7 separate regions of the Homo sapiens genome follow, and all the other regions are linked to region 7. Evidence: promoter capture Hi-C in 16 types of primary human blood cells and fetal thymus (Javierre and others, 2016). All regions are on one chromosome and are shown on one strand. The core of a region is centred on a gene start or on the middle of the fragment in contact, and the rest is flanking DNA. Distances in the headings are between cores, read along the strand shown. Region 1 overlaps INPP4A (inositol polyphosphate-4-phosphatase type I A). Region 2 overlaps INPP4A (inositol polyphosphate-4-phosphatase type I A). Region 3 overlaps INPP4A (inositol polyphosphate-4-phosphatase type I A). Region 4 overlaps INPP4A (inositol polyphosphate-4-phosphatase type I A). Region 5 has its middle 44 kb from the start of INPP4A. Region 6 overlaps CNGA3 (cyclic nucleotide gated channel subunit alpha 3). Region 7 holds the start of ACTR1B (actin related protein 1B).

Region 1 (2,700 bases), core at 86-2,585, 920 kb after region 7:
TGGGGCGCCTTTTTAAAATTTTAATTCCCTGGTCTGCTCCCCAGGAGCCTTGGTGCCATTCAGGCCTGATGTCCAGTGTGACCCTGGTGCTGAGGGACGGCAGCCACGCCTGTGCCCATTAGCTGCACGGTGGTGGGAGGGGACATTCTGGTGAGCTGCAGACCTCAGCCAGTGAAGAAAGGAGAACAAAGTGGACAGGGATCCCTGTGGTAGTGGCAGCAAGGAGCAGGATCAGGGCCAGTCAGGAGCTGGCACCCCAAGTTAGGCACACAGTCCATGCGGAAACCTCTACTCAGTTCTCGGGCTCTCGAACAAGTTCAACGGAAACAATTCATTCTGACCACCTCTGAACACAAAGACCTCAGGAGACCAGTGACAAAGTGGCCCCCTGGAGAGCCACAGTGCGATGGCAGGCCTGTCACTGAGCCCAGACCCGCAAGGGCCCCATCCGCCTGCCCCTAGCACACTTGGGTTGTGTGCTCAGGACAGCCGTTACAGTTACAGCTGTTAGGATGTATAGTGCACAAAGCACTTTTTATAACTTTTACTCACATAAGGAATTGAAAATCCTTGTAGGAAAATTAGGAAATACAGATAAGCCCCTACACTAGTTCCTCAGAACCCTCCCACAAAGAATCCCCCAGTTTCCTAATGTGAACAGGTAGCGCTGCGGACATTTGGATACATACTGTCTAGATAAGAGACATGCGTACATGCCTATGGGCGTGAGTATGTACACATGGGCCAACCAGTCCCTGAATTACACAGAACAAAAACACCCACATGCACAAACAAGTGTAATTATATTTGCAAATAACAGTCTTGTGAGCATTTTTTAGGTTAATAAATGTAGACCTTATCACTTTTTTTTTCTTTTTTTTTTTTTGAGATGGAATCTTGCTCTGTCACCCAGGCTGGAGTGCAATGGTGCAGTCTTGGCTCACTGCATCCTCCACCTCCAGAGTTTAAGCAATTCTGCCCTTGCCTCCTGAGTAGCTGGGATTACAGATGCCCACCACCACACCTGGCTAATTTTTTGTATTTTTAGTAGAAACGGGGTTTGGCCATGTTGGCCGGGATGTTCTCAAACTCCTGACCTCAGGTGATCCGCCCACCTTGGCCTCCCATAGTGCTGGGATTACAGACGTGAGCCACCATGCCCAGCCGCATTTTACACACTATAATTTATCCAATTTGCTGTCATTGAATATTTAAGCTGTATATGGTTTTCCAGCATTTTAATCAAAGGTGCAGTGAATATCCTTATACATTCCCCTAGCCACATTGCCTTAGGTTAAAAAGTATACACCTTTGTAAGGCTTTTGAATAATTTTAGTACAGATCACCAAATGGTCCCCACAGTAGCCACTCTCCTGCCCAGTGTCCCAGAGTGCACGAGGCACTGCCCATGCCGGGCGCTGTCTTTCCTGTCACTCTTGTGAGGCTTCTGAAGCTGTAAGGGCTGTTGTTTCTCTGCATTAGCAGTAAGGGCCCTGGGGCCTGGCAAAGGGAAGGCCCTTCCTCCTGTGGGAACAGGCAGCATTCCCTCCACCCTGCCCTCTTCCTTTCTAAACCCCACCCCTGCCTCCAATCATGGATGCCTTTTTTACTTGCTTATTTCTTTGTTTTCTGAAATCTCTACAGTGAACATGTATCACTTTAATAGTTTTTAAAGAAGTTATAAAAACAAAACAAAGCTCAATCCTACTTTACCTGTGCCTGCCCCAGAATTCTCGCACCAGCTCTGGGGACATGGCTCACTGCCACCTTGAGCCAACCCTTGCAGGTCTGAGGCTCTTGTCACAGGCATTTGTTTTAAGGTGACTTCTGTTTTCGATACGATCCCATGAGGGGAAGACATGTACCTGTTCAGGCGGCTGCAAGCCGAGGTGGCTGGGTCACAAGCTAGCAGCTCTGGCTGCTGGGGTGCCGAGTACCTGCAGTTTAGCTGAGGGCCCCAGAAGGCAGCATAAACTTCCACCCTGCCCGTGGGTGCAGGAGGACATTTTGGTTCCTGGCTTTCTGGCTTGCATCTTATCAGACGGAAGAGTAGAGCATGCAGGTGGGGGTGGAGGGGGTGGGGGCCAAGCTGGCACCCAGGCTTTTCTCCTGGAGGCCCAGGGTGAACCATGGCCAGTGCTGTGCTGTAAATGTTCAGCCACCAGCTCTCTCCCCAAAAGCCCTGATCTGTAATGTTTGCCATTTCTGTGGCATAAACGCTTCTACCAGGGCCCATTTCAAGCTCCCATGTGGCACCATTGAACATGGAGTTGGGAAGAGATTCACACATTTGGCCACTGGGGTGTTCCTGTCCCCAGTCCTGGGGCTGAACCCCTCGAAGTAGGCCTTCCTGAGTAGCCACAGGGCCCTGCCAGCCTCTCCTGGCAGGGAATGTGGCAGTGGGTCGGTGCTCCGCAGCTTGGGAATTGTGCCCTCTCAGAATGGCACATTCCAGCAGGGCCATGGGGGCTTCGGGGCTCCTCTGGGAGAGCTGGGGAGGGCTCTGTGTGAAGAGGAACCCTGGGCCTCCTGCCTCCCCATCTCCAAGTGGAGCCTTCACAGGCTGCCTGCTGTGTCCTCAGGCCTCTGATTCTGTGTCACTGCTGCCACTTGGCAGACATAAATGTGCTTCCAGAGTCATGTGGTTCTAGGTACCATCTCACCTCAGTGCAGTTCTTCTGTAGCACCAAAAGGGGGAAG
Region 2 (2,700 bases), core at 89-2,588, 810 kb after region 7:
CTCATCTTTGTCGAGTTCCACAACTAAGTTTTACAATTATTTATGAATGATAGTGCTTAGCATACTTTCCAACTCAGTGAGACCATGAACTAATTGAATTTGTAATAACCCTGAGTAAATCTTAGTGGACTAATAGTAAAACTTTGAGGTTTTACAGTAAGAAAGTGAGATCCTTAGATATACCAATTTTAATGTCTCAGTAAAGAAAACAATTTTATTGATTGATTGATTGATTGAGACAGGGTCTTGCTCTGTTGTCTAGTCTGGAGTACAGCCATGTAATCATAGCTCATTGCAGCCTTGAACTCCTGGACTTAAGTGATCCTCCCACCTCAGGGTTCTGAGTAGTTGGGAGTACAGAAATGCCTTACCATGCCTAAATTTTATTTTTTATTTTTTTGTAGGGATGGGGGTCTTGCTTTGTTACCCAGGGTGGTCTTGAACCCCTGGCCTCAAATGATCCTCTCACCTTGACCTCCCAAAGCGCTAGGATTTCAGGTATGAGCCACCATGTATGGCTGAAAACAGAAAATTTATAAGGTGCCACTAGGGGAGGGTAATAAAGGAAGGAAGGGGAATGAAATCCAAACCAAAATAAATGCTGTTTAGTGTGTGGCTGGTGGGTCGCATTTCTCATTCTAAGAACTGTGGCATTTCTTTTTGATGGTTCTGTTGATCCTGAAACCAGTGAGACTGCAGTTTGTGAAGGATGATGATAGAAGTCGATAACTCCTCATGGTTCATTGCTGGACCATGAGTTTAGCTGTAACTAGATGCAAAGCTCATGGCTGAGATTGAGAGCCAGAGAGACCCAAAGTCTCTACATCACGCCCACACTGGTACTTCCAGCCTAGGAGGCGTGGTGAATGCCTCCCACAGTGGTTGCTGAGATGGCTTTGAGCAGAGCAGAGATGAGTCAACCATGGCAGGATAAAGTGAACAGCTGGGAAAAGGGGTTTTGGGGGCTGGGGGTAAGGGGAACTGGAATAGTGTTGCAATTTTCCCCATCCTGGCTGTACCTTACCATCACCTAGGGGCTTTTGAAAAACATGGCAGCCTGCCCTCCACCCATGCTGTGCTAATTAGTGTAATCCTGGGTGGGGCCAGCATGACATTTGCCACCTTTCCCATGAGGTGATTTGGAGGTACAGCTGGGGTGGAGAGCAGTGGGCCTTAGAGGTTTAGAACCCAGCCTCCTGGCTGGGCACGGTGGCTCACGCCTGTAATCCCGGCACTTTGGGAGGCCGAGGTGGGTAGATCACGAGGTCAGGAGTTCAAGACCAGCCTGGCCAAGATGGTGAAACCCCATCTCTACTAAAAATACAAAAATTAGTCGGGTGTGGTGGCTGGCATGCGCCTGTAATCCCAGCTTCTCGGGAGGCTGAGGCAAGGAATGGCTTGAACCTGGGAGGCGGAGGTTGCAGTGAGCCGAGATCGCGCCATTGCACTCCAGCCTGGGCAACAGAGCAAGACTCCGTCTCAAAAAAAAAAAAAAGAACTTGGGCCGGGTGCGGTGGCTCATGCCTGTAATGTCAGCACTTTGAGAGGCCAAGGCAGGCAGATCACCTGAGGTCAGGAGTTCGAGGCTAGCCTGACCAACATGGAGAAACCCTGTCTCTACTAAAAATACAAAAAATTAGCCGGGCGTTGGGGCGCATCCCTGTAATCCCAGCTACTTGGGAGGCTGAGGCAGGAGAATCCCTTGAACCTGGGAGGTGGAGGTTGTGGTGAGCTGAGATCACGCCATTGCACTCCAGCCTGGGCAGCAAGAAAGAAATTCCGTCTCAAACAACAACAACAACAACAAAAAGAACTTGGCCTCCTGATGAAATAGGCCCACCTGTTTCAAATCCCCACATATTGGTGTTGAGCCAGTCTCTTAGATGCCGAGCCTCAGTCCCCTCCTTCTCTCAGGCTGTGAAGGTGAACTGTGATGTGCAGAGCTGCAGCATGTTCTGCTGTGCACCAAGGAGGGTTCCACAGTCATAGAGGCATAGTCATGACTGATGTGAAAGGGCCAACGCACGTGACCTCCTGCCCCTGTCCGTCCACATCTCACTTGGTAAAACCACAGCCCTGGTTCTGGCCACTTCTCAGCACAGTGGCCTGTGGCTGGAGAAGAACACATGACATGTTGATGAGTCTGTAAATTCATGACCACAGAGCTCCAGTGAGCCATTGGGAGTGCTTGGCACTCAGAGTGTTTCCCTGTGGTCCTAGACTGGGGAGCGGCCCCTGGATTTTAAAGAGCTCTGGACCCAGTGGTGCAGGTGGGGAGACCTGGCCCCTGGAGGCTGACCCAGTGCACGTGCAGCCCCACCTGGGGTTCCCCTGATTGGACTCCTGCCTCAGGAGGGGCATGAGACTCACTTGGCGCTGCTTCTGAGCTCTAAGTCCTTGCTCCTTAGTGGTCTGTCCCTTCCCTCCGCAGGGAGGCATGGCCCGCTGGGCTTCGGCCCCTGCAAGGAGGCCTGGTGGGGCCTTTCGCCTTCTCAGCCAGGCACTGAAGGAGCAGGAAGGGGAAGCATGATACCAGGACCACAGGAAGAAGTGGTGCTGAGTTGGGTGGTCACTTCCTTGGTGTGACCTCTGGTTAGACGTGGTTCAGGGCCATGTTGCAGGAGGAGCTGGAAGACATTTCTTTTTTTCTTTTTTTTTTTGTTTTTTGAGACGGAGTCTTGCTCTGTTGCCCAGGCTGGA
Region 3 (2,700 bases), core at 100-2,599, 790 kb after region 7:
TATTTTATAGGGGCTGGATCTCACACTGTGTTGCCCAGGCTGGTCTCAGACTCCTACTCTCGCCATCCTCCTGCGTTGGCCGACCACAGTGCTGAGTTTACAGGCGTGAGCCACTGTGCCCGAATAATGCTGCAGCCTTCTTAATGTATCCCATCAGGAGGCATATGCTGTGATTATCCCATTCTCTGGCCCTGCTAACTTTGATCACTTGAATTAAGGTGGTGTCTATCTCATGGAAAAGTTACCATTTTTCCCTTTGTAGTTAATCTGTGTCTTAAAGGAAGAGAATTTGAGACTATGTAAATATAGTTACTGCTCATACAATTAACTGACTAGTTTCAGAATTCATTGATGTTTCTTACCTGAGTCAATTATTATGATAGTAGGCAGATGATGATTTTCATGGTTCCTTCTATATTTATTAGTTGGAACTGTACTGAAAGGAAGAAACCTTCCTTTCTCTATTATTTACTTTTTGATTTACATCACTGGACTCATGAATTCTTGCTTTATTCAATAGATTATAGTCCATTACTCCCATTATGCATTTTGTTGCTCAAATTATCCTAGATTTGGCCAGTGGGAGTCCCTTCAGTCTGGCTTTTGTGTCCTTTTGACAAGTGCTCATCATTCTTTGAGGACTTTTCTTCCAGGCACAAAATCTTCAAGGACTCAGCTTATACTTTCCTTGTCCCAGCCCTGGAATCAGCCATTTCTCCAAAGAGTCCTGGTTTCCTTTAGTGGAGAGTGGTATAAAAACCGAGATGTAGGCACTATGTATTCTCGTTGCTACTGAGGTGTCACCCATTCTAGACCTTCTCAGGGGATAGATGCTCTCATTGTAAACATAAATGTAGTCACATTACACAAAATTTTCTGTGGCTTGCTTTTTAAATTTGTACTCCTTCCATTAGGCTTTGAAACTGTCTGTTTCCCTTTAACTTGGCCAACATTTAAGAGAATAAATCTTGTTAATTTTGCCAATCTAATGGGCAAGGAAGACATTATTGTTTTAATTGCATTTCCCAAATTACCAAAAATATTGGATACCTTTTCTTGTTAATGTATATTTTAACTTCTAATGAATTACCTGTTTATATCCTTTGTTCATTTTTTCTTGTTGGGCTGTTTTTCCTTATCTTACTAGATTGTGGAAGTTACGGTAACTTTGAATTTTATTCTTGGCAGCTTTAGAATGTTTTTTTAAGTGTGATGCTTTTTTAATTTTTTTTTAAAGTCCTAAATGACAAGGAACCCAAGCTTTTCTGAGTACCCCCTGCATGCCAGGCCTCCCTGGACATCCTGTGGGAGGTTCTGTCCAAAGGTGAGCTGTGGTGTTGAGGAGTGGTTAGAGCATCCCCCGAGGGTAGTTAAAAGAGGCTCAACTGGGACTAAAACCCAGTTATATCACCTAACTTCCTTCACAGGATTGAAAAATGAAAGCTTTTCAATGAGGGATAAAAATTGATTACCTGGATTTGCCAGTATCAACAATTTCTGTTTTCAGTATTTTGGTTTATAAATCAGGAATTTCTTTTACACAGTCCTTTTTGCTGAGCATACACATCTTTCGAAACCATTTATTTTATCCCTAGAACTATTGTGGACTCTGGTGCTGCACTTTCTGTGAGCATCCAGCTAGCTGTGTGACTTTGGGCAAGTGGCTTAATCTTTCTGTGCCTCAGTTATTTCATCCACAAAACTGGGCTGCTGGTAGTAGCAGCCCCAGAGGCTTGTTGGGGGATTAAATGAATTAACATTTAATCCTGGTGCCTAGTAAGTGTGCAGAACGGAAGCATTACAATGGATTCGTATACAGAGTGTGGGTGGTTGGCAGAGCTTGGAATTAGATCAGCCTTTCCTCTGTGGATTTAATCTCTTAGTTGTCTCTTTCTGTTTTTTTTGAGATGGAGTCTCACTCTGTCGCCTAGGCTAGAGTGCAGTGGCTCTAGCCTGCAACCTCGGCTCACTGCAACCTCCGCCCCCTGGGTTCAAGCAGTACTCCTGCCTCACCCTCCCTAGTAGCTGAGATTACAGGCATATACCACCATGCCTGGCTAATTTTGTATTTTTAGTAGAGACGGGGTTTCACCATGTTGGCCAGGCTGTTCTTGAACTCCTCACCTCAGGTGATCCACCCACCTCTGCCCCCCAAAGTGCTGGGATTACAGGCATGAGCCACTGCACCCGGCCTTAGCTGTCCCTTTCACCATAGCCTGTCTGGGATTGGAAAGCCAGGGTCCTGGGTGCAGTGTGCATGTCTCTTTCTGGTCTTTGCACATACCTTTGTCATGCCCTATCAGGCTGTCAGGCCCAGGCCTGCCAGCCAGCCAGCCCAGCTGGCCTCTGGTGTTTGCCCACAGCCCTAACCTGGAGCATGGGTGAGACTGCTGGCCTTTTAATATGAAACTTGTTCAGTGAGGCTCACCTGGCGAGGGACTTAGGCACAGTAAGCAGATGTATATGGTGGGGGCAGTGGGGGGATCATGCTCTGGTGAGGTCTATTTTCTGGAATAGGGTCAGGAAGACAGGGATGTCCTCTGATGTCCAGGAAGAAGGGTGGGGACCTCTGAAAGAGGAAAGTGTTTACCCGCTGCCAGCTCCGGTCCTGGGATCCTCCTAGAGCGCTTTCCCTGAGACACCTGGTAGTTTTCCTGACCTCCGGTTGCTGCAGCGCCCCTCTTTTTGCACCTCACTAGG
Region 4 (2,700 bases), core at 79-2,578, 850 kb after region 7:
TTGATGAGGGGGTTGAAATACTGGATGCTTTCCTCGGTCCTTTCATACACTTATTCAGAAATTTATGTGACACGCTGGAAGGACTTCCTGGACAACAGACGGGCAAACTTTCAGTTAATTGTGTGAGGGCTTCAAGTGGTTTCAAGTGACAATGGAGTAAGAAATGAGACTTGTCAAAGTCCTTGCCTGTTGTAGGAGAGAGAACCGCGCTGCTCCTGGTGCACGCTGACTGCAGTCCTAACCACGCAGCTCTGACAGCAGACCGCCATGTACAGTGTTCCTGTTGTCTTTGTCTGTGGTATTGTGAAATTGATGTGGTAATCAAATGACGAATGAGGCCTGGTGCGCGGGAGTGAGAGGGGTCATGTATGGGAACACTGGGTTGATTCACCTCAAGAAAAAGCCCCAGAATCCCTGGCTGCAGAACCCAGGGGTGCCGCTGCCTGGAAAGGACAGAGTAGCAAGCCAGCCCCTCACCCAAGGGAAGGCTTCAGAAGAGGCTTGGCCCCCACCATTGTGGGCCTCAGGTTGTCTACCATTCATCTTTGTTACACTTTGTGATGTAGCTCTGGACCAAGCCTCTTATCATCTTTGTATCCCTAAGGCCTGCTCCATAATAGACCCTCAACTGTTTGTTAAAGCAGGAGTCCACAGTCCCCGGGCTGCAGACCAGTACTGGCCTGTGGCCTGTTAGGAACTGGGCTGCACAGCAGGAGGCGAGTGGCAGGCATTACTGCCTGAGCTCCACTTCTTGTCAATCAGCGGTGGCATTAGATTCTCGTAGGAGCACAAACCCTGTTGTGAACTGCGTATGTGAGGGATCTGGGTTGCGTGCTCCTTATGAGAATCTAACTAATGCCTGATGATCTGAGGTGGAACAGTTTCGTCGCGAAACCACTCCCCTTGACCAGCCCCCCAAAATTGTCTTCCACAAAACCAGTCCCTGGTGTCAATAAGGTTGGGGACTGCTGTGTTAAAGAGATTGCCAGTTTACAGAGAAGAAACAGCATGAGGTGCAGAAGCAAGAAATTGGAGGTGCTGAAGAAAGAGTGGCTGAAGTGTGTGGTGTGGAAGGCAGTCGGCAGATCCCCGCCCACCCCAGGCTGCTCCTGGCACCTCCCAGACATTGCGCTTGTGATTATTGACACATCTCACTCATCTCCCAGATTGTGAGCACCTGTTTTGCTCAGCACAAACATTTTAAAGCACTTTTTTCAGGGCAACTTATTTTCAAACTGCTTCTTACAGAAAATCCCCTGAACGTTCATGGTATATGGGTGAACCACAAGGAGCTGAGCTGCAGTTGTAAACTGGGCTGTCCCAAAGAACTCCAGGAGAAGCTGGGAACCAAGAAGGACATAAAAGAAGTGAGGGAATTGCCTGCCTTGTTATCTGAGGAAGGGCAGTCCCAGAGAGGGTGGCTGATGCAAAGGCCACACCAGATAAAAGTCTAAACAGCAAAGAGGCCAGGGCAGGAGCAGGATGAAGACACTGCTAGGAGGTTCACAGGCCCCGTCATTGCAGTTGGACACAGACTGTGAGGACTGTGGGAGGGACGCTGGTCAAATTCCCAGGGTATGGGAGTTGGGGTACTAAGGGAGTTGAAGTCGTACTTGTGGGGAAGATAGAGCTAATAGAGTTGTCAATGGATTGGATGTGGGATGTGAGAGGAGGAGGAGGCCAGGATGTTATTTCTTGCCTGGAGCAAGTGGAAGGACAGAACTCCATCTACTGAGATGGGAAACCTTGAGGGGCTGGTGAGGTGAAAGAGGAAGGCTGGAACGGTCTGGGCTTGTTCTGCTCCTGGAGCATCCTCCTCTGCCCTCTTGTTTACAGGGATATCCATGTCCCTATCCAAGGTATCTCAGTCAGTTCAGGCTGCTATAACAAAATAACTGAGACTGGTAAACAGCAGAAATGTACTTCTTAGACCTGTGGATGTTGGGAAGGCGCTGGCATTTAGGGTCTGCTGAGGGCCTTCTTGCCATGTCCTCACATGACAAAAGGTGAAGGGCAAAAAGGGCCTACCTAGTTCCCTCCAGCCCTTTCATACAGCACTAATCCCACCTATGAGGCCAGAGCCCTCAGGGTCTAATCACCTCCCAAAGGCCCCGCTTCTTAATACTATCACATTGATGGCTACATTTCAACATAAGGAATTCTGGGGGACACATTCAGACTGTAGCACAGTGACTGACTCCCTCCATTGGAGTCTGGGATGTGCATTTGTATTCTGGTTCAGGCCCTGTATTATAGTAGTAAGCATATTTATTAAACTAATGAGGCATGTCAGTTAAGTAAATGAAGTTAACTCATTGCCATTGCTGCCTGTCCATCATCACTGGCAGACAGTAGGGCTTGGGAAATGGAAAGCCAGAGATAAATGAACATCTCCCAGTGAGCACAAGCTCGGGGGCCCTAAGTCAGGTCATTTGTGTCTGCAGGTGAGAAGGGATACGCATTGCCAGCATGTTACTTCTCTTCCTGTGCTTGATTCAATTTTTTTTTTTTTGAGATGGAGTCTCGCTTTGTTGCCCAGGCTGGAGTGCAGTAGTGCGATCTGGGCTCACTGCAACCTCCACCTCCCGGGTTAAAGCGATTCTTCTGCCTCAGCCTCCCAAGTAGCTGGGACTACAGGCACGTGCCACCACGCCCAGCTAATTTTTTGTATTTTTAGTAGAAAGGGGTTTCACCACGTTG
Region 5 (2,700 bases), core at 32-2,531, 740 kb after region 7:
ATTGTAGGTGTGTGTGTGTGTGTGTGTGTGTGTGTGTATGTATATATATGTTGGTATACATAGATATATTTCTAACTCTGTGTACCAAGAAGGCTTGGCAGTGATACCTATTACAAAGAGCACACCAAGCACCCAGATCTTGGTTTCCAAATATCTTTCTCCAATAAAAGGAACCAGGGCTGATTCTAGGGCTGAGACGGGGAAAATATACCATGAGCATGGAGTGTCTTGTAGTGCCGGAAAGTACTCAAAAAGCACAATGTTGGGGGGCAAGTGGCGATAGGGCTTTCTACATACACACACACACACACACACACACACACACACACACACACACAATGATGGAAGTAAATTAGAGGGACATAGCAACCAACCTGAAAGAGCTCCCAATGGCCAAAACTGAAGCCATTTGAAAAACAAAATTTTTAAATTTAGTATTAGACTATATCCCAAAGTATAAAAGTCCATGAGTCTATGCCATAAATGAATGATTGAATAAATAAATTAATGAGGGAGAAAGGACACATATTTTTTACAGAAGGATTCCAGATCATATATGTAGATTATTTGATACTTTCCACCCCAGGATGTAAAGCCTTATTGATGGATCTTGCACTCAGAACTGGAGCCAAGGATCCAGCAGCCTCTACACTGCCATGGGGGAACATAATGTCAATATCAACTGGTCATGTGAATGGGATTACAGTAAGGAGGTTGAGGTGGGAAAGTTATCCTGGATTTTCCAAGGGGACCTGATATAATCACAAGGATTCTGATAAGTGGGAGGCAGGAAGATCAGAGAGAGGAAGGCAATGTAACAATTAAAGAATATGTATTATTATTATGGTAGAAACTTCATTAAGATTTTTGAGATTCTGGAAAAATGGTGGTGGTGGCAGTGTAGTTTGTTGGGCTCTCTAAGTCCTCACATAAAACACAGCAAATAAGATAACAAATCTAAAGATCCACAGACAACATCTGACATCCCTGAGGATATGAAAACACCCAAATCACCAACAGGTGCTCACTAAAAAGCATGGAGAGCCTGTCTGAGAACAGCTGGAATTAAGGGAGATTCTGCAGGGATCAATTTGTGGGTGACAGCAAATTGACAATGATGCTGCAAGATTGATGTGCAGGGACACTCTCGGTGCTGCACACTCTGGATGTTCACAGAATAAAGCTTCTTTCTTTATTTGAGAAACATCTATTCAGATCCTTTGCCCATTTTTACATTGGGTTATTTGTTTGCTTGCTATTGAGTTGTTTGAGTTCCTTATATATTTTAGATATTAACCCTCATCAATGTATGGTTTGCAAATATTTTCTCTCATTCTGTAGGTTGTCTCTTCACTCTTGTTTGTTTCCTTGGCTGTGCAGAAGCTTTTTAGTTTAATGTAATCCTATTTGTCTATTTTTGCTTTTGTGGTCTGTGTTTTTGGGTTCACATCTTTAAAAATAATTTCCCAGATCAATGTCATGGAGGATTTACCCTATGTTTTCTTCTAGTATGAAAGAAGCTTCCTTCTAAGACAAAACCCCTCACTGAGAGACAATTTGGAGTAAAATCCAAATTGATCACAGGACAGAAACAGTAGTGACAAAGGAAAGAAAAAGTTTAGATAAAAGAGGGTAGAGAAGCAGAGGAGGTAGCACTACTTCATATATATTTTTATCACTTTGAGAAAACAGCCGAAGAGAGAATTAGAGAACTATGAAGTTAGAAAAAAGTAAATCATGCTCCATCTCTTCTCTCTAAAGTATAAGCACATTCAACTCACTTAGAAGACGAACAACAGAAAAGATGCACCCTCAAATTTCATGCAAAGTCTTTATTAAAAAGACAGCGAGGAAGAATCAGATGGAGTATAACATCTCTGCAGATAATGAAACCCACCAGAAAGACATGCCCACAGAACGGATGTAAACTGACTCATCATTTCAAAACCAGCCAAGAGAAATTAAGAGAATGATAGATGCTATTAAAAAAAAAACAGCATAAACCAGAATCAAGGATGAGGTGATTGAGGAAAAGGAAGATTTGACAAGAGCTGTAACAGAACTCAGAAAAGTACTAGAAATAAAAGAACAAAAAAAATTTTAAAAACTGAATTAAAAGGAACACAAGAGCAAATAAACATAGTAAGCAATGTTTTAAGAGAAATCAAAGATGGAAAGGAAAAATGTCTTAAAAATCAAAAAAGATATTCCGAATATGACATTTGGGAAAGGACAAAATTGTGGCAAAAGTAAAAAAAAAAAATTAGTGTTTGCCAGGGGTTGGGGGAGTAGAAGCATAAACAGGTGGAGTGCAGAGAGTTTCAGGGCACTGAAAATACTCTGTATGATACTGTAGTGGTAAATACATGTTGTTATACCTTTGTGAAAACCCACAGAATGTTCAACACCAAGAGTGGACACCAATGTAAACTATGGACTTCAAGAGAAAAATTGTCAGTGTAGGTTCATCTGTCACAGCAAATGCACCTTTGATACCACTTTCAAAAATATGAAGTATGTTGCAGGTATATGGGAATTTTGCTGTGAACCTAAAACTGCTCCCAAAATGCTTTTTTTTAATCAAAAAGAAATGAAAAAGATAAAAAGAATTTGTGAGAAAAGTGATGGAGAATAAACAACAAAGATCTAGCATGTTAATAAGAATCCCAAACAAGTACCAAAGCACAGGAATAGAGCACA
Region 6 (2,700 bases), core at 1-2,500, 720 kb after region 7:
CTTGACAATACCACCCCGTATTCTTCAAGCTGTGAGTGCAAAGGCTGGAAGCAGTGGGATAGGGATTGGGGGGTGGGGCATGGTAATCCCCTGGTGAAATGGCCCCAAGGAATGGAAACAGAGTTCAGACCCTTGATGTTCTCTCTACCTTCCCGCAGCGCCTGGCCCCTGGCCAAATGCAACACTAACACCAGCAACAACACGGAGGAGGAGTAAGTACCCACACACCCAGCAGAGCCCTCCCCAAGCCCGGTGCCCTCCACCCCATAGAAGCCCCAGCTTGGCCTCTCTCCTTAGTGCTCCTGCTCCCCACTCCCAGAGCACCAGTAGAATATTTTAGAATCCTGTTCCCTTCGTTGGAATTCCATCCCTGTGGACAGAAGTCGGGGAGGGATGAGATCTGTGTGACTTCTTGGGGAAGTCGTCTGATCTCTTCGCCTCTCATTTTTCTCATCCATAAAGCAAAGGAATTGGATCAGATAAATGCTTTAAGCTTTAGCACTCTATACCACGATATATCTGAGGGTGCAGAACCGGAGTTCCTTGACAGAGCACTGGAGATTCTCCTTAATGATGAAAAGGCATTTTCTTATTCTACAACCTCAGGCTCTTGAGTGCCAGTGAAATGCCCTTGTTTTTGCTGCTGTTGTTATTGTTGTTTGTTTGTTTGTTTTTGAGATGGAGTCTTGCTCTGTCACCCAGGCTGGAGTGCAGTGGCGCCATCTTGACTCGTTGCAAGCTCCGCCTCCCGGGTTCACGCCATTCTCCTGCTTCAGCTTCCCGAGTAGCTGGGACTACAGGCGCCCGCCACCACACCCGGCTAGTTTTTTTGTATTTTTAGTAGAGAGGGGGGGTTTCACCGTGTTAGCCAGGATGGTCTCGACCTCCTGACCTCGTGATCCACCCGCCTCGGCCTCCAAAGTGCTAGGATTACAGGCATGAGCCACTGCGCCTCGCCTGAAGTTCCCGTGTTTTAAGGCCAATTTGGGCCAATTTTGGGGGCGTAATCAGAGCAGTGGAAAAAGGCAATTTAAATATGTCCAGAGAATAGCCTCTTCAAAGGGTGACCTGCTATAATTCCTTTTTCCATCACCAGATACTAAGGTGGCAGATTAGGGACAGCGTGGCACTATTCAGGAGGGGAAGTCTTAGTTGGAGATTAGGGAAAAAATACCTATATCAGTGAGAAATGCCGATTTCTTGACTTCCAACAGACAGAGAAATGTGCCAAGGGTTTTTCTTGTTATTTCTCTCTTTGTTCCTCAGCTAGAACTTTTTTCTATTTTCTCCATGAAGGAAGCATGTCTTTTGTTTGCATAAATTTGGACATCAAATCCAGAGACCCAAATGCCAGCCATAACGAAAAATGAGATGATTTTATCTACAAAGCAATAGCTATAGTGATATGTGTTTGACTTAAAGCCAAACCTGACACTAAACACCCTTGCAGCTGCAGTATCAAGTCTTTCAGGCAGGGAACGGCTCCAGATACTGAAACCATGGACAGAGGTCCTGGGGGTTTCTAGGCATCTTTGTCCTGGGGCTGGGGTGTGGGCAAGGATGTGGGTGGATAGCGTGGGCTGCACCCGGCTCTTCAATCTTTCAATAAATGGGCTCACTTCACTGGTCCACTTTGAAGCCAAGGACCAAGGGACAAAACTGGGAACTATCCCAAAATGAGGACACACACAAAATAATTATTTATGAACACCTTCCCCGACTCTTCACTCCATTTCTGTCATTTTCATATGGTCTCATTTGTCCTGAATAATTTTTCCCTCCCCCATCAAACTGTTCCCAGCCAAAACCAGCAGCATTTTGCAGTTCTGTGTAGGGTTCTTTTGGGGCAGTGCTGGGTGGATTTGGGGATGCAGCCGATGGTGCTGGGTCTTTCCTAGGCTCTCAGCAGTTTGGTACCCAGACAGGCCAAGGCCCGTAATCCAGGGCCACAAATCTTGCACAAGGCAAGCTGAGTCCGGCGTAAACTGCAGGGCAAAGCTCACCCAAAAAGCTTGAGGGCAGCGCCGTCTGCTGGTGACTTGACGTTAAGACTCCAGTGCCTGAAAAGAGACCAGGGTTCACATCACCCTGGAGGACAGAGGAGGGGTAACTTTCCTTGCTCTTTTCATTTAATGATTTTAATAACCTTTTATTCTAATTCACTTTATTGAAATACTCTTGCTGAAAACTTGGAAAACAAGAAAAGCACACAGGGGCATACACACACAAAAACTGCACTTCATGCTAACCATGGAATTCCACTATCAGAGATAGCCCCACTTAACATGTTGACAAATATACTTCCAACTTCTTCCTAGGCATATATATTGAATACTTAGATTGATACAATATATTTTATATATACATATACTTGTTAAGAGCATCTGTTTCCCAACTCAGTTGCCTCAGAGCTTTGTGACCTTGGACAAGTGTATTAGTCCATTCTCACATTGCTAGAAAGAAATGCCTGAGACTCGGTAATTTATCAGAAAAGTGGTTTAATTGGCTTGAGGTACTGCAAGCTATACAGGAAGCATAGCAGCTTCTGCTTCTGGGGAGGCCTCAGGAAGCTTTCAATCATGGTGGAAGGCAAAGGGGGAGCAAGGAGTCTCAAACGGCAGGAGCAGGAGGAAGGTGGGGTAGGTGCCGTAAACAACCAGATCTCAAGAAAACTCACTCACTGTCTCAAGCAAAGCACCA
Region 7 (2,700 bases), core at 101-2,600:
TCTGCAGCAGAAACAAACATCTCCAAGTTACAGAGGAGGGGATGGAATCCCCAAGGGGCCGAGCGGTAGCCCTTTTAACTTATAAGCCTGTTGATTAGCCTATACGAGTTATTTGCACGTCAAGAAAGGAAGTAGCCTGCTCCTTCCTGCAGCGTCCTGCTGGTGTGACAGCACGTCCCCAAGCTCAGTGCTAACCTCCTTATTAAACATCCCCTGCTGTGACTCAGGGAACCCACATGGGTACTCTAAAACAGTCATTCAGGGACCCCACGGGGTCATGTGGGAGGGAGACAGATCCCAGAAAGAGCACAAGTGAGTCATTACCAAAAACTCCAAGGCCCGCACACCGGACGCACATACCCAGCTAGGGGCAGACTCAAAGATCCCAGCCCTTATCTTCTCCCCATATCAGAGCTCGGAAGCCAGAAATCTTCCTAAGGCAGGTGAAAGCAAGCCGAGCCCCACTGCTGAAGGACAAAGCCACAGGAAGCCTGATGACATCTTTCCTCTGAGGCTTCCAAACGATCACCCCAAATTGCTTGCTGATACTGGGAAGAGTGGCCATGAACTCTCCATTGCTCTGCTGGCTGTGGAATGTTTGCTCAGCACAGGAAGCATTTAAGGAGAAAGTCAAAGTAGCCAAAAGGCAAACCAGATGGTGGTGGACATGTGGGTGACAGAGCATCCTGCATTTGTTGCCTCGGGGTGCAGCCCCAAAGATAAAGCCAGCAGTGTGCAAATGACAAATGCTACCCCACCTCCGCCAGGCAGCCAGAGCCAGGGCCGAAGGACGCGGAAAGGAACTGGTGTGGAAACCTGCCCAGGAACCGCACTCTCAACTGAGAAGAGTCCGGGGCGCGTCCCCGCCCGGCCGCCCGGCTGTCACTCAAGCTCTCCTGAACTTCCCCGCCCGACTCGGGGAGGGGTCGGGGAAGAGGCTCTGCGACGCGGGCGAGGGGGCTCGCCCCATGGCCGGCCTTACAAGGCCAAGAGGGCGCGCGCCCCCGGGGCGAAGCCAGCGGCCCGGCGGGGGCGACGGCCACGCAGTGAGCGGAGGACGCGCCGAGGCGGGCGGGGGTCTCTCCCTGCGCCGCCGCGTGCGCCCCCGGGGGCGGGGCGCCCGCCCTCCCCCTGGCTGCCGGGCCTCACGTTGTCGATGACCACAGGCTGGTTGGCGATGATGTCGTAGGACTCCATGGCCGGGCCGCGCCGGCCCTGCCCAGCAGGCGGGCTGCAGGAGGCACCGGATGGGCGGGCGGGCGGGAGGACCGGGACGGCGGCGGCTCCCGACGCGGCGCCGCTGCCCTCCCTCCCCGAGCCTGCAGCCTACGCGAGCCCCGCGGGGCTTTCTGGAGGGCGGGCCCGGCGGCCAATCATCGCTCCCACCTGGCCCGATTGACAGCAGGTGCCCGGGGCTGGCTGCGCGAAGGGGGCGGGGCCTCCGGAGGCTGGCCAGCCAATTGAGGTCGTCCGGAAAAAAGTGGTCGCGGCGTTGCCAAGGTAGGCTGCGCAGTGTCTGGGATGATGTCATGGCTCCGTCTTAAAGGGGACGCGGGCGGCAGAAAGTGGAGCTGGGCTGGTGTGCGCGCGGCCGGAGTCTGTGGAGCTGGAAATTCACCGGTCCAGGAAGACGTCTTTCCCGCGTCCCAGCACCGGTCCAGAAAGACGTCTTTCCCGCGTCCCAGCACCTCGGGCCACGCTCCTTCGTGAGAGCGCCCTCTCCAAGGAGGCCGGCCCTGGATATTTCACCCAAAATATTTATTTTTTCTTTTTTTCTAGGTAAGGTGTCTTGCTCTGTCGCTCAGGCTGGAAATCTTGGGCTCAAGCGATCCTCCCGCGCCAGCCAGTAGGGGGGACTACAGGCGCGCACCATATTTATTTATTTTTACTGAAATAGTCTCCGTAGAGACTGTTAAAAATTGCCGATGTCGACTATATTGCAAGTCGTCACGGTGGGGTATTGCGAAAAGTTTTCAATTAGCAATAATCGCGCTTCGGATAAACCTCATTGGCCACCATACGGCCACCGCGCAACGCTAGCTAATTAAAAAAAATTTTTTTTGTAGAGAAGGGATCTCGCTATGTTCCCCGGGCTAGCCTCGAACTCCTGAGCTTAAGCGATCCTCCCGCTTAGTCTTTCCAAAGCGTTGGGATTACAGGCGTCAGCTATTGCGCACGGCCCCATAATATTTCCTCGTTGAGCACTGAAGAAAAGATCCTTTTCCTTATAAAAATTACAGTTTCGTGGTATTTTGGTCCTGGCATTTATTGAGCACCTGCTCTGTGCCTGCGGAGCACTTCTGCCCACTTTACATAAGTTATATTAAATCCTTGCAACAATATCAGGTAGTTGTATTATTACTCCCATTTTTCAGTCAGGGTCTTCACACTTTGGTAACCTGCCCAAGATTATTGGGTGTGGAATTGGCATGCAGGTAGCCCCCTGCGGCACTGGAGTCAGCTGCTTCAAGAGTGCAGGATAGTTGAGTTCTACATTTGTTTACCAAACGGATCCATAGTTATTTCCCTGTATATATACCTCTCCCAATGGGTTGTGAGCATAAAATTTGTAAAATTGAAGCGGGTGTGCAGAAATCACAAGTGTACATGTACATTTCAATGAATGATTAAAATGTGGACACACTTGCATAACCACCGAGTTCAAGAAACAATATTGTTGCTGGAAAAGGGGTCCCGATC

What was found. Contacts are between HindIII fragments. The CHiCAGO score rates a contact against its expected background, and 5 or more counts as called.
Region 1: a contact is called between a fragment that was not itself captured here and the fragment with the promoter of ACTR1B in region 7, in 1 of 17 cell types (monocytes). The highest score is 5.9, in monocytes.
Region 2: a fragment that was not itself captured here is called in contact with the fragment with the promoter of ACTR1B in region 7 in 3 of 17 cell types (activated CD4 T cells, neutrophils and monocytes); the score reaches 6.8 in activated CD4 T cells.
Region 3: a fragment that was not itself captured here is called in contact with the fragment with the promoter of ACTR1B in region 7 in 3 of 17 cell types (activated CD4 T cells, fetal thymus and monocytes); the score reaches 6.7 in activated CD4 T cells.
Region 4: a fragment that was not itself captured here is called in contact with the fragment with the promoter of ACTR1B in region 7 in 4 of 17 cell types (monocytes, neutrophils, M1 macrophages and 1 more); the score reaches 11.3 in monocytes.
Region 5: a fragment that was not itself captured here is called in contact with the fragment with the promoter of ACTR1B in region 7 in 4 of 17 cell types (megakaryocytes, M1 macrophages, M0 macrophages and 1 more); the score reaches 8.1 in megakaryocytes.
Region 6: a fragment that was not itself captured here is called in contact with the fragment with the promoter of ACTR1B in region 7 in 2 of 17 cell types (monocytes and M0 macrophages); the score reaches 7.0 in monocytes.

What each region holds. Positions count from the first base shown.
Region 1 is chr2:98,578,185-98,580,884 of GRCh38, forward strand. All of the region lies in intron 24 of INPP4A (inositol polyphosphate-4-phosphatase type I A), which reads left to right. Among named protein-coding and RNA genes, the nearest start is that of COA5, 29 kb to the right of the region's middle. The HindIII fragment of the contact is 8,329 bases long and covers 1-2,700 here.
Region 2 is chr2:98,468,019-98,470,718 of GRCh38, forward strand. All of the region lies in intron 1 of INPP4A (inositol polyphosphate-4-phosphatase type I A), which reads left to right. Among named protein-coding and RNA genes, the nearest start is that of INPP4A, 25 kb to the left of the region's middle. RefSeq lists a silencer at 772-901. The HindIII fragment of the contact is 3,455 bases long and covers 1-2,700 here.
Region 3 is chr2:98,448,878-98,451,577 of GRCh38, forward strand. The region is part of intron 1 of INPP4A (inositol polyphosphate-4-phosphatase type I A); the gene reads left to right. Among named protein-coding and RNA genes, the nearest start is that of INPP4A, 5.4 kb to the left of the region's middle. The HindIII fragment of the contact is 183 bases long and covers 1,259-1,441 here.
Region 4 is chr2:98,508,566-98,511,265 of GRCh38, forward strand. The region is part of intron 1 of INPP4A (inositol polyphosphate-4-phosphatase type I A); the gene reads left to right. Among named protein-coding and RNA genes, the nearest start is that of INPP4A, 65 kb to the left of the region's middle. The HindIII fragment of the contact is 9,429 bases long and covers 1-2,700 here.
Region 5 is chr2:98,399,944-98,402,643 of GRCh38, forward strand. No RefSeq gene overlaps it. Among named protein-coding and RNA genes, the nearest start is that of INPP4A, 44 kb to the right of the region's middle. The HindIII fragment of the contact is 200 bases long and covers 1,182-1,381 here.
Region 6 is chr2:98,383,230-98,385,929 of GRCh38, forward strand. CNGA3 (cyclic nucleotide gated channel subunit alpha 3) reads left to right here. Exons shown (of 8, transcript NM_001298.3): 5 at 159-212. Among named protein-coding and RNA genes, the nearest start is that of CNGA3, 38 kb to the left of the region's middle. RefSeq lists enhancers at 155-732, 733-1,308. The HindIII fragment of the contact is 1,518 bases long and covers 492-2,009 here.
Region 7 is chr2:97,662,694-97,665,393 of GRCh38, forward strand. It overlaps ACTR1B (actin related protein 1B), which reads right to left and starts at 1,351. Exons shown (of 11, transcript NM_005735.4): 1 at 1,150-1,351. The coding sequence starts at 1,197. LOC124900516 (U4 spliceosomal RNA) reads right to left here and starts at 2,038; the gene lies at 1,898-2,038. It also overlaps a transcript of C2orf92 not described here and the pseudogene RNU4-8P. RefSeq lists enhancers at 1-454, 420-489, 1,530-1,869 and silencers at 850-909, 990-1,449. The HindIII fragment of the contact is 7,381 bases long and covers 1-2,700 here.